Regions from separate parts of the Homo sapiens genome. Here regions 1 and 3 are each linked to region 2. Evidence: promoter capture Hi-C in human tissues and cell types (Jung and others, 2019). All regions are on one chromosome and are shown on one strand. Each heading gives the region's core, a stretch centred on a gene start or on the middle of the fragment in contact. The rest is flanking DNA. Distances are from core to core; before and after follow the strand shown.

What was found. Contacts are between HindIII fragments. The study calls those that stand out against the background at their distance.
Region 1: a contact is called between a fragment that was not itself captured here and the fragment with the promoter of A2M in region 2, in 1 of the 25 tissues and cell types used here (hippocampus).
Region 3: a fragment that was not itself captured here is called in contact with the fragment with the promoter of A2M in region 2 in 2 of the 25 tissues and cell types used here (mesendoderm cells and thymus).

Annotation. Positions count from the first base shown.
Region 1 is chr12:9,169,104-9,173,455 of GRCh38, forward strand. It overlaps PZP (PZP alpha-2-macroglobulin like), which reads right to left. Exons shown (of 36, transcript NM_002864.3): 16 at 327-488. It also overlaps a transcript of KLRG1 not described here. Among named protein-coding and RNA genes, the nearest start is that of PZP, 37 kb to the right of the region's middle. RefSeq lists an enhancer at 998-1,509. The HindIII fragment of the contact is 4,945 bases long and covers 1-4,035 here.
Region 2 is chr12:9,112,640-9,117,370 of GRCh38, forward strand. It overlaps A2M (alpha-2-macroglobulin), which reads right to left and starts at 3,280. Exons shown (of 36, transcript NM_000014.6): 1 at 3,125-3,280; 2 at 721-904. The coding sequence starts at 3,210. It also overlaps a transcript of KLRG1 not described here. The HindIII fragment of the contact is 8,783 bases long and covers 1-4,080 here.
Region 3 is chr12:9,146,326-9,151,128 of GRCh38, forward strand. It overlaps PZP (PZP alpha-2-macroglobulin like), which reads right to left. Exons shown (of 36, transcript NM_002864.3): 34 at 4,319-4,421; 35 at 3,236-3,277; 36 at 2,515-2,669. The coding sequence ends at 2,647. It also overlaps a transcript of KLRG1 not described here. Among named protein-coding and RNA genes, the nearest start is that of A2M, 33 kb to the left of the region's middle. The HindIII fragment of the contact is 4,844 bases long and covers 63-4,803 here.

The DNA of each region.
Region 1 (4,352 bases), core at 313-2,812, 55 kb after region 2:
AATATAGAGTAGTGAAATTACTAAACTTATGGATTATTAAGATTTTATTCTTTATTCATTATTTTTTGGTTTGCAAATAAAAAAACCTAAATATAACTAAAAAGTATCCAGATGAATAGGCAGAGGTTAGATCTAGCCCTGACTCACATACTGAGCTTTTGTGTGATCCTCACAAGAGACTTTAACCTTTTTATTGGCTTCATTTTTGTCTGCTGAAAAATGGAGAGGCAAGGCTACATAATTACTAAGATTATGAATAGATACAGAGTTTTATTAACATTCAAAAACTCACAAGCCAGCATGTTAATAAGTAGTGAGAATTTTACCTTGAGGAAGCTATAAATATCTGCTTCATTACTTGATAAGGGAACATAGATGGCTCCATTATGAATGAAGAAAGGACGGGGACAGTGTCCTTGTTCTTCCTCCTGCTGGTCCACATTGTCAGGAAAATTGGTGAGATCCTTCACAGTTAGCAGATTATATACCTGTAGCAGTGGGGGGATCAAAGGCAGAACTGTTACTTACTTTTCTTTTGAAATAGAATGAACTGAGAGAAATAAAATAATTATCACCAATCTTTTCTTGAGTACGTTCATGTAGTTGGTACCTTAGAGATAGTTGAAGATTTTCCTTATATTTAACAGTGTTGTTTTGTTATAAAGAAATGAAACCTACTTGGGAAAATGCTTCCAAAGATTAACAAAATCTTAAGTTATGAAGGATTAATTAAAACTTCATTGTAGAGTCTAGAGGTAAAAATAGACCAAATATAGAAAGAAGACGTAACTTGCATCTGTGTTTAATTAATACATAATGCCCTGAGGAATTTAGCTACATATTATTATTGCCACCTGTTAAACATCTATGTCTACTCAGGCTTATTCTCAGACAGAAAATCGTATAGATGGCCCATTAGAAGCAGCTGCGGTCTGCAGCACTTACGGAGTGGAATGAAAAAGCTTATTAAATGCAGCACCTTCAACTGAAATACCCAGGTTCTCACATTGAGACTGACTAGGCAAGCAACTTGAGCCACAGAGAACAATGAAAAGCAGCAGGGGCGGAGGTGGGGGAGGGCAACGGAAGGAACCCCCACCCCCAGCCAAGGGAAGCGGTGAGTGATTGTGCGACCTCGCCTGGGAAATCACATTTCTCCCAAGGATCTCTGCAACCCATGGATCAGGAGATACCCTTGTGAGCCCATGCCACCAGGGTCTTGGGTCTGATACACAAAGCTATGTGGAGTCTTGGCAGAGCAGCTGCTCAGGCACACAGAAACCCTGGAGTTTTACATAATCCGGCCCTGGGATCCCTGGAAAGGCAGGAAATCTGTTTGTATATATCCCTAGGAAGGGGGCTAAATTCAGAGAGCCAAAGAGCATCATCCTGTGGACCCCACTTCCACAGCACCTCACAGGTTAAGACTCACTGTCTTGGAATCTCAGCCAGCCGACGGCAGTGGGTTGGAGTCCACCTGAGATGGACCTGAGTTCCTGCAGGGAGAGGTGGGTGCCATCTCTGTGGTTCTGAGGACTCAGCCACTCCAGCCTGAAGGCTTGGGGAATACAGATGGTCTGGATGAGGAACGGTCCCCCACGATGCAGCACAGCTGCCTTGCCAGATTGTGATCAGACTGCTTCTTTAAGTGGGACCCTGATCCATTCCTCCTCATCGAGTGGGACCTTTCTGTGGGGGCTTCAGGTACTCCAGCCAGGGTTCTAAAGACAGAGCTTTGATCTCTCCCTGGGACCGAGCTCCTGGGGGGCAGGGGTGTCTGCCATCTCTGCAGTTTGGTTGACTCTGCCACTCCAACCTGCTGGCTTTGGAGAATACAGGTGATCCAGGTGAGGAAGGATCCCACCCAATGCAGCCCACCTGCTCTACCAAAAAGCAGCCAGGCTGCTTCTTTGAGAAGGTCCCTGATCCCATTCCTCCTGACTGGGCGAGACCTCCCAATGAGGGTCTCCAGCCACCTCCAACAGTTGCATGTGGGCTGGCAACAAGTTAGTACCCCCACAGGATGGAGTTTCTAGAGGAAGGCACAGGCTGCCATCTTTGCTGTTTCATGGCCTTTGCTGGTGATACTTCCACGTACGGGAGAAACCAAAGCAACTGGGGTCTGGAGTGGACCCCCAGCAAACCTCAGCAGCCCTATGATAGAGTGGCTTGACTGCTAAAAGAAAAACAAACAAACAAACAGAAAACAACAGCATCAACAAAAAAGACCTAACACAAATCTAATTCAAAGGGCAGCAGCCTCAAGGATTAAAGGTAGATAAGTTCACAAAGATGAGAAAGAATTAATTCAAAAACAACGAAAACTCAAAATGCCAGAGTGTCTCTTCTCTTCCAGATGACTGTGACACCTCACCAGCAAGGGCACAGAACCGGGCTGAGGCTAAGAATTGACAGAAGTAGACTTCAGAAAGTGGATAACAATAAACTTTGCTGAGCTGTAACCCAATGAAAAGAAGCTGAGAATCATGATAAAACAATACAGGAGCTGGTAGCCAGAATAGCCAGTTTAGAGAGGAACATAACTGACCTGATGGAGCTGAAAACCGCATCTCAAGAACTTCACAATGCAATCACAAGTATCAGTAGCAGGATAGACCAAGAGGAGGAAAGAATCTCAGAGCCTGAAGATTATCTATCTGAAATAAGACAGGCAGACTAGAATAGAGAAGAAAGAATGAAAAGAAATGAACAAAACCTCTGAGAAATATGGGATTATGTAAAAAGACCAAACCTATGACTGATTGGGATCCTTGAAAGAGACAGGGAGAATGGAACCAAGTTGGAAAACATACTTCAGGATATCATCCAGGAGAACTTCCCCAACCTAGCAAGACAGGCCAACATTCAAATTCAGGAAATGCAGAGAAGGCCAGTAAGATACTCCACAAGAACATCAACCCAAAGACACAAAATCATCAGATTCTCCAATGCCAAAATGAAAGAAACCATGTTAAGGACACCTAGAGAGAAAGGCCAAGTCACCTACAAAAGGAAACATATCATACTAACAGTGGACCTCTCTGCCAAAACCATGGAAGCCAGAAGAAATTGGGGGCCAATATTCAACATTCTAAAAGAAAATAATTTCCAACCCAGAATTTTATACCTGGCCAAACTAAGCTTCAAAAGCAAAGGAGAAATAAGATTCTTTTCAAACAAGTGAATGGTTAGGAAATTTATCAACACAAGGCCTGCCTTGCAAGAGCTCCTGAAGAAAGCACTACGTTTGGAAAAGAAAGACCATTACCAGCCACTACAAAAACACACTGAAGTACACAGGCCAGAACACTATGAAGCAATCACATAAACAAGTCTGCAAAAAAGCATCATGATGACAGGATCTAATTCACCCATAAAAATACTAACCTTAAATGTAAATGGGCTAAATGCTCTAGTTAAAAGACACAGAATGGCAAGCTGAATAAAGAGCCAAGACCCATCATCAGTATGCTATCTTCAAGAGACTCATCTCACACGCAAGGACAGACACAGGCTCAAAATAAAGGGATGGAGGAAAATTTACCAAGCAAATGGAAAACAGAAAAAAGCAATCCTAGTTTCTGACAAAACAGACTTTAAACCAACAAAGATCAAACAAACAAAGAAGGGTAGTATATAATAGTAAAGGATTCAATTCAACCAGAAGAGCTAACTATCCTAAATATATATGCATCCAATACAGAAGCACCCAGATTCATAAAGCAAGTTCTTATATACCTACAAAGAGACTTAGACTCCCACACAATAATAGCGAGAGACTTTAACACACCACTGACAATATTAGACAGATGATTAAGACAGAAAATTAACAAAGATATTTAGGACCTGAACTCAACTCTGGATCAAGTGGACCTGATTGATATCTACAGAACTCTCCACCAAAATTCAACAGAATATACATTCTTCTCATTGCCACATGGCATTTACTCTAAAATTGGACACATAATTGGAAGTAAAACACTCCTCAGCAAATGCACAAGAACTGAAATCATAACAGTCTTTCAGACGACAGTGCAATCAACTTAGAACTCAAGATTAAGAAATTCACTCAAAACCACACAACTATATGGAAATTGAATAAACTGCTCCTGAATGACTCTTGGGTAAACAATGAAATTAAGGCAGAAATCAAGAAGTTATTTGAAACTAATGAGAACAAAGAGACAATGTACTGCAATCTCTGGGATGCAGCTAAAACAGTGTTAAGTGGGAAATTTATAGCACTAAGTGCCTGCATCTAAAAGCTAGAAAGATATCAAATCAACAACCTAACATCTCAACTAAAAGGACTGTAGAACCAAGAGCATACAAACCCCAAAGCTAGCAGAAGA
Region 2 (4,731 bases), core at 2,030-4,529:
TTCACTCCCTTGTTCTCAGCAGGGAAAGTTGGCATGGACAGGAATCACTTCTGCCATTTTACAAATGGGGAGACAGGACACAAGGTGGAGGAAAATAAATCAGTAAGAGAGGTTGTAAGTGAGATTCACACCTTCATACAGCTCACAGAAACAGTCTTGATTCAATTATACGCTGAGCTTTACCAGGCTGATATTACATGCTAAAAGGGCATGGTCGAAGCATGTTTTACAGGCTATGGAAAAAAACCCCGTATTTTACTGACACTAGGCTGTAAGCATCTCACATGTGGACAACTCTGAAGAGATATTACACCTTTGCTCAGGGTAATTTCTACAATTTTTACTCTTAGAAGTAGTGTGGAGTGATGTGTTCCTGTCAGTCCACCACGGGTGGCTCATGTTGAGCCTTGGTCTAGTTTGCTTTATTAATATTTTTTCCATCTTAATTTTAAGAAGTCACATTTTCTTTTTTTTTTTTTCCTTTCTGGCTAATAGGGTTTCTATGTGATTATTAAGCTGACTTTTAGTTTGCCTGTAAATATTTGTCTCCCATGGCTGGAGAGTCATGCATTGCTCCTTAATTTCTATACTTAGTTTGCTACATTTGGATTCCTTCCTGCAGTTCTTACCAACCTCCCAAAGCCTCATCTGACAGAATACTAGATCCCTATGACCCTGACTAAAAGAACCAAGTATATTAAGTCAAACAGCCACACTCACAGCGAAGGCGACACAGTGGAGTACGTCATTCTCCGCCTCCAGGTCAGTGAAGAGGCTCCTGTTTCCCCTGACAGACTCCAAGGAAGCACTTACAGTCACTGTCTCATTCAGGTAGCTCAGAAGGACACAGCCCTTCTCAGTGGTCTCAGTGTGGAGCAGGGAGGGGACCAGAACCATATACTGCCTGGGAATGAGACGGTTCAGTTAGAGGAAAGTGAAGGAAGAGAGGCATTGCTATCAACAGCACTTTTTTCCATCATCATAATTATCATCATCAGTTCTACACCAAGAGAAGATGTACTGATGAGCATGAAATTTGGCCGTTGAAGGCCATGCATAAGAATTATTTCCCTTTTCCCTCACATGCCATGGCAGTGAACATTTTACTTGAGGTAGGTCTTAAACAGATTAAAACTTGTAGGCATGCTTCACTTTAAGGAACAATTTGTGAACATCTGAATTCAAATAAAAATATGTAGTTACATTTGTTCATGTTGTAAAATCTATTTTTACCTTCAAGTTGCTGTAAAAAGTAAGCAAGCTCTCAGTCATGCGGACATTACAAAAACTAATCAAATTATAGAATTTTCATTAAAATATATATACACACATACATACATACACACATTCAGCAGCCCTGTGAAAATTGTATGGTAAGCACTCGCTTCCACTCCACAGATATGGAATCTGAGCCTCAAAGAAAGTGAGCCATTACTTCACAGTCTCAGTTGTGGTAAGCAGCTAATAAGGTCTTAAGAGTGTTACCTAACCATGGATGTTTGCATTTTAAATATTTGCCTTTCAGCTCATGATTAGACAATGGCTCCATCCAAAAATGGTCCTCTGGTGATTGACTTTAGACCTTGGTAACTCATGTGCAGTACAGAAACTTTCTCAGTACCCTGACATGTAATTTAAGATCAACCCTGTAGTTTTTATACATTTTTGCTCACAGAACTCCTAAAATAATTTTTGGACTCTGTGCACTCCTTACATATTTTCAAGTAAACATATTTTTATCATGATTTTAAGTAATAGCAAAAGATATTATTTTTGATGATATTTTAAATTAATACTTAGATTACTTTTACAATTTTCTCATGAATAATAAACACTGTAGTATAAGATACCTACTATCACTATTTAAAAGTACATTAAAAAATTCTTTTAATGGTCTGATATTTAATATCTTTCTCTTCTTTTTTCCTTTTTGAATTTGAATTTCCATGCCAATTACCATACAGAAATTTATCCTAAATTTTTATATTTCAAAAAATGTTGTGAATTATTCTTACTTCTTTATTGTCAAGCATCTATACATATACGTATGTATACTTATGTTCACATATATACATATATGAATACATATACATAAATACATATATATGTAACATATGTGGGTAGGTAAATTTAACTTTAACTCCTCTTTTAAATAGAATGTAACCATAAATTTATAAATATTAAACATTTCCTTCTGACTGAGCTATGTTCAAAAATACTTGTATATAACTGATCAAAACAAAATAAATACAAAGTATGATTCATACATATTAGATATAAAATTAAAATACTTTTGAAGCACATCTTTAATGAGAATGATGAGCTGTTTTTTCCCCCAGTGAATTTATGCATCCATGGATTGCAAGAATTAAACAACATTAATTCTGTTACTATTTTTGTTTTGTGTAGCTATAAGTGCTAAGAAGAATGGCTCACATAAAAGTAAATAAATGGCAGGTAAAACAATTGCATCATTGTTACCACTTCTTGCAACTTCTGCATTACATGCCAAAAATCACCTAGTACTCTATTATCAAGAATCCCTTCTCATCACTCATCAGCTGGTATTTCCTTCAGTTCCTCCTTCAGTTGTGTTGAAACAAAGAATTCATCACCACCTCATCTGCAAAAGGATTTCTCTTCTGACATTAGAGTCCCTTGCTTTTTCAATATCAACACCAGTATTTCAAATTGTTCCTTTATTTGGCACTCTATAGATTTTTATACTCCAGGGCATTGTTCCATGTTTGGTTGTGGGAGAGAATTGTCTTTATTTTTATAAAATAGAAAATGGACCCTTGAGAAAGAGGAAATAAGAAAAGATAAATAGCATGGTCTCAAGTAGATCAATATGAATGTGAATATCTAAAATTTATTCTTTTAAAAAGCTAAAAATTTCTGACACCCCTTAGGAAGGCTTTGCATATTAGAGCTTCAGAGAGTTGGGGAAGAATGATTAAAAGTAAGCAAGTAATGAGTAAACTAGATTTGTAAAATCTGGAAGGAATCTTAGAGATAAGAAGATGACAGTATCATAGGAAAGAAAAAGGAATGATATAAAGAAAAATCTGCAATAAATGAAGGACTCTAGGTTCATGCTTCACGCTCTCTGTGTGGAACTCACGGTTTTCCAGAGACTGAGGCGTCTGTGGGCAGGAGGACCAAGAGGAGAAGAACCAGACTTGGATGAAGGAGTTTGTTCTTCCCCATGTTGCAGAAAGAAGGAGCTGGAGGAGAACAGACTGTATTGTACCCTACTCCCTACAATCCATCTGGTCCCAAACACTTCCCAAAGCAACTGGGCTTTATGCTGCTCTGTGTGCAAACAGGAAGTTCCACCCACACAAGATCTCTAAACAAAGTTGAGGTCTCTGAACATTCTCTGGAAAGGTCATTGATGGCCTATTTATAGTCAAGGTTAATTCCTGGCGGGCTAAATAGAATCCCTGGAGGGCTAAAACTACATTCCCATTCCCGTAAGAGCTCACTTTTACCGTACAGCAGCTAATAAGCTTTTCAACCTCTTCTCTCCCTCACTCCCCCACAACTCCTCACAACGCCTTTTATGGTGCTTCTCACATCTCTTGTATGAATAGCTGGCAAGGAAAACTACAATTTAAGCAACACTGGGCAGGCTCAAAATAGATATTTCACTACAAGTCAGTGTGGCTGCAAGTTCTCCATTAGATATGCCTAACCTAAATGTTTGAAGCCACATCAGAATTCAGTAGTCCTCTTTGAAAATGGCACGAATTAAACCAGTAGCTTTTTGACATTAGGGATATTACTGGGTTGCAGATGAAGAGCCAGGCCCTGGAAGAATGATCATAGAAAAGAGTTTCCTGTTTTAAGAAAGTGAAACAAAGAAACGTGAAGTAACAGGACTTCAAAAACAAATTTTGACCTATTGTGCCTAACAAACTTCCCAATTGCCTTTACCATCGACTACACAGACTTCCTTACTGCCTTCCAAATATGATACTCCTCTGCAAACTTTAAGTCATATAAATGATTTCATTAATCCATCCATCCACCCATGCATTTATTCATCCATCTATTCATGTAGCTATTCAGTTGCTTTGTAAGTATTTTTTGATCCTACTAGGGCTAGACATCATGCAAGATTCTAGAGATAGGGTGGTCAAATAAGTATGAAAACAGGCACTTAAAGATTTTACATTCTTGTTGGGGCAAAAACAGACAGAAAAACAACTACTGTATAAAATACAATATAACACCTACTGTATAAAATACAGTATAAAATACAATATAAAACTACTGTATAAAATACAGTAGCCAAACATATTATTGCAGAAGTTCAGGATGCTCTGGGAGCACATAAGAGAGCACATAACCCAGACCTGGAACCTTTTAAAAAAATTTTGAGGGAAAGCAAAATGTAAATTAAGCTCTGAAGTATGAGTAGTGGTTGTCTCGAAGAACAAAGAGATGAAAAGAGCTTTCTAAGCATAACGAATGACAGATGCAAAGGAGGGAGAAGAATCACGGCACATGCATGAAATGAAAACTATTTGGTATGGAGGAAATATTCCTTTCTGATACTTCAAATCAGAAAGGAATTTGTCAACAATATTAAGGTATTCAGAGGAGTACTCAGTGGATTGACTTCAGGTTTGTTTCCTGGAAAGCTTGCTCTTATTGAAATTTGAAAGGGCAGCTAGAAAGAGGTGATCCAGGATGCAGGAAGACCAGATGGGAGCTGGTGTAATA
Region 3 (4,803 bases), core at 1,235-3,734, 33 kb after region 2:
TTTTAAGTTACTGTGTTCTTCAGCTCAATGATTTCTGCTTGGTACCTTTTGATACTTTTTGTGGTTTTGTTGAAATTCTCACTGCTCATACATTGTTCTTTTGACTTCAGTGAGCATCTTTATGAGAATTATTTTGAATTCTCCATAAAGTAAATCACATAATTCCATTTCATTAGTGTTAATTTCTAGAATGTATTTTGTTCCTCTTTAAAGGAATATCTTTGCCTAATTCTTCATTTTCTTTGACTCTCTGTGTTGTTGCCTCTGCATTAGACAAAGGAAGGCACCTCTCCCATTCTTCACAGACTAGTCTTGTATAGGAGAAGGTTCCTATCAATCAGCCTTGTTGGAGGTTGTGGGAGATTCTAACAATCCTTTCTCTTCTCAGGGAGAAGCAGGAAGCTGTGGTTCTTGTCTGCTTGTTTTGTGATGAGCTAGGGGAGTTATAGTGTTCACCACTTCAAATCAATGCTGTCTTTCTCCCCCAGGCAGCCAGTCTGTGCTGGACCCATCAGAACTACCTGACTGGCAAGATAGGTGCCAATTCTTTGGTCAGCCACAGAGAAGTTGGAGTATTGGATGCAAAGATCAACTCTTTTCCCAGGCGGAAGTTGAGAGCTGGGATTTAAAAAAATCCATTTACTGTCTGCTAGCAAGGGGAAGGATTAATGGCATCTAGAATTCCAAGCTGCCACCTCCTTTCTTCCAAGGTGGGGCTAGACTGTGCAGACTCATCTGAGCTCCCCGACTGGCAAGGCAGATGTCAGTTGTTTGGGTATCTACAGAAAAGTTAGGGCATTAGACACATGGATCAACTCTTTCTCTCCCTAAGGGAAAGCTGAGAGCAGGAAATTTTTTGTCCACACACTCTGCTGACCAGGGAGAAGGATCTATAGTGCCTACCAGTCCAACTTGCCATCTTCATTCTCCTTCAAGCAGCTAGACTGTGCTTGTCCTGTCAGAACTCTATCACTGGCAAGATAGAAACCAGTTCTCTGGGGAGAACCCTCAGAAAAGTTAAGATGTGTGAAGTAACCCCTTCTCTCCCCTAAGAGAAGCTGGGAGCTAGGGGGCCTCTTTCTAATTGTATTATGCTATGCTGGGAGTGTTCTGAATCTTCTTTTTTCTGTTTTTTAGCCTCTCATAAGCCGTAGCATGTCCTGAATCTTACTGGCTTCGGTGAGTCTGCTTTTGCATTTGTTTAGGATACAGGAGTCTTTCAATTAGCCTTTGAATTTCTCACAAAGGGAATTTGTCCATGATTGTTACTAAACTGGTGTTCATGTGTGGGACAGGGGGGAAGCCTGGGGGAAGACCAGGGTTTCCTACTCTGTCATCTTGCTGACTTCACTTCTCCACTCATGTATCTTTCATCAGCCAGTTTCTTACTGTGTTATGGCTCCACTCTGGTATATCCACCCACCATTCTTCTATGACTCCTTGAACCCTTCAAGCTAAGTCTTCTGGAACTCAGAACCTATTATTAGCAAAATATCTTATAGCCTTCTCCAAATGTTGCCTTTATGTATGAATTTGAAGCATGTCTTCCTATTGAGACCTTGACTTGTTTTATGTCTCCATTAAGAGGTGACCAGTTTTTTTTTTCTCCCACACTACATTTATCCCTGTTTCTGTAGATAGGATAATGTCATTCTTGCCTCTTCTCAAATACTTGATTTTTTTTCTCTCCATAAAAGGCATTAACTACTCTCATGCCATTTGATTTTACCATCTGCTATACCTTTGTTTATTTTTAAATGATGTTTAAAAATTACTTTAGAAATTATTTTAAGCAGAAAAAATTGTGTATATTTACCATGTACAACGTTTTGAAATATATATTCATTGTAGAATGGTTAAGTCAAGCTAATTAACATGTACATTACTTCATATAGTTGTCATATGGTTAAACTCTACTCCTTAGCATTTTTCAAGAATACAATATGGTTAACTGTAGCCACCATGTCTCTTTCTATTAAAATAATCTATAGGATGCAGGTTACTCCCCTTTTATTCTTTGAAGATTTTAACCCTTGAGTCACTGCATCCTCACCACTGTTACTTTTATCTTTAAACTTATTAATTTTATTATCCATGTTTGTAGATGGTTTATCTAAATCCTTCACTCTCATCTCTTTATTTTTTTAATCCATATAATAATCTTATCCTAAAATGCACTTTAATTATCAATTCTCTAGATATTAGTTTTTCCTATAACAGCACTTCTCCTCATCTCAAACATCTCTTCTGATGTCTCTTCTTCTAATCTTCTGACCCTTCCAGTCCAGTTATATTACCACGTTTATATTATCTATCATCCCCTTATGTTCTCACCTTCCACCTTTCTCAACTGAATTTTCATTCAATTTCTTTACCTGCAACCTCCACTCTGCTTTCCTACTAGAATGCTAACCTATTAGAATCCAACCTTTGCACCAAAATTAAACAGAAAGAATATAACTCATCATGTGAACATGTTATTAATGTCTGATGAATGAATGATGCAACAAGTGATAGTTTGACCAGAAGTACATATTTATTCAGCAAATATTTTTAGTGTCTATTTTATAGAGACAAATAACTCCATTCCTTCTAAGTAAATGTATAGGACAGAGAATCCACCAAAATATACAGCCTGTATGGTCCTCAAACATTTCCATGCTCTGTATCTATGGAGAAAAGAAAAACGTAAGGAGGTTGTATCATTTCCTGAGGAGCATTCAGTTGAGTGTGGGCAGCAGAGTGAGCTTATGCAGGGTCAGGAAACTTTGTGAAAGGCCAGATGGTAATTATTTTAGGTTTATATGCCATGTGGTCTGTCATGACTAATCAGCACACAAAGGCAGCCATAGCCAATGTTAATAATAAGTGTGGCCATGTGCCAATAAAGCTTCATTTACAAAATTAAGTGTAAGGCTAGATTTGGTTTTAGGTGTGTGATTAGTTGACCATTGTGTTGAAGGAAGCCCAATTAGCTGTGAAGTGAAATGTCGCTTTTAGAGATAGCTGTCCTACAAATAAACAAAGCTTATTGACTTTTCTGGGAGTGAATATCTGAAATTGGAGAGTCCGCTACAGAATAGGCATGCTACGCCACAGTTTTGTCTTGGTGTGAGGACATGCCATGTGGATTGTCTCAGATGTAGGAAAAGCCTTGTAGAGAATTTAAATTGCAGGGGCCCTTGGAGAGTGGGTTAATGCCATCTAGTACTGGTCATAAGTGGTGAACTCTTACCTGTGCTGCAGGGGGCGATATACTCAGCAACCACAGACTCATCTGAAAGATAACGTTGGGTGAAGGAAGAAACGAAAGATCTATGAACTAGGGACCATGCTAAATCTGTCTAGTCACTTTACTACTGGAGAAAAGCACGCCCTATCAGAATTGTCAAAACTTCATGTAAATAGACAAGAATTAAACAGGATCATTAACATATTTATATTCTCTTTCCCTGAGACTGGAGATGGGGACTGAAGCCTGTTCAGATGGCAGCTGTTCAAATTTTAAATTCTTGGGAAGATGATCATAATTGCACTAACCTGTAGTTCTCTCTTCCATGACCTCTCTGCTTCTATTCACTTTGTTCAGCTTGCTCCCTTAATTACTTTTCAAAGATTATTGTTCCAGCTTGAAACACTCCTCCTACTTCTATAGACCCCCAAAACTCCACTCATCCTCTAGGATCCAAATCAGATCTTTCTTCCTGTTTGTTCTTCCTGAGCACCAGCCTTCTGTGCTGTTTTTGCCTCTCAAACTTATTGCTTAGCTCACTAACACTCATTTGTCACTAATAGTCTTTCCTGTTATGTAATATTTTTATCTGTATTATGTTATCTATGTCTCTAAACTACTTGAAAGCAGTGACTATATATTATCATTCTTTTTAATTCTTAAGTTTCTGACTCAAGAAACACTAATTGATAAATTTGTTCAGTAAGTTTTTGTTTTGTTTTGTGTTGTTTTTTCTTTTTTTTGAGACGGAGTCTCGCACCGTCACCTGGGCTGGAGTGCAATGGCGTGATCTCAGCTCACTGCAACCTCTGCCTCCCAGGCTTACACGATTCTCCTGCCTCAGCCTCCATAGTAGCTGGGATTACAGGCACACACCACCACACCCAGCTAATTTTTTGTATTTTTAGTAGAGATGGGGTTTTGCTATGTTGGCCAGACTGTAGTAAGTCGTTTTTATAGTGTACATCTTGGAGGAAAGAAACAAAAGATTAATGTTGACTAAGTGGGCTAAGAAGAGGATCAACTGTCACAACAGGATCCATTTCTTGGCTCTGGTTAAGATTGTTTCATTTTTCTTTCACTCACCTGTCTCATAGTAATCATAGACTTTAACAATTGCTGGCTTCAAGTCTCCTACTGGGATGTCTTGCAGAACCATGAAGGAAAAACTTAGCGTCTGATTTGTCACCTGAAAGGAAAAGTGGGAGTAATCAAGAACCTAGAAAACCTCCTTCTTTCTCCCATGAGCAAAACATATTCTTATTGTTCTTTGACTCTTTTTCACCAGTGTCTTTAGGTGACCAGACATTTGTGGATGTCAAGATGGGTTTTAGAATGCATCCTTGGGAACTCTATTTACAGTCAACAAATTTTCACAGATTTTCTTCTAAACAACTGAGCCAACCCTATTCTTTTGTAGTCCCTTGTTATGAGATTAACTCTCTGGGCCCATGTGAATGTGTTCTAAGCTGGAGAAACATGGTTTCATACAATCTGTAATTAAAACAACGAAGTATTCTTTCTGTTTGGATACATAAAACATTTTCTTTGTTTTATGGTCATATTTGATA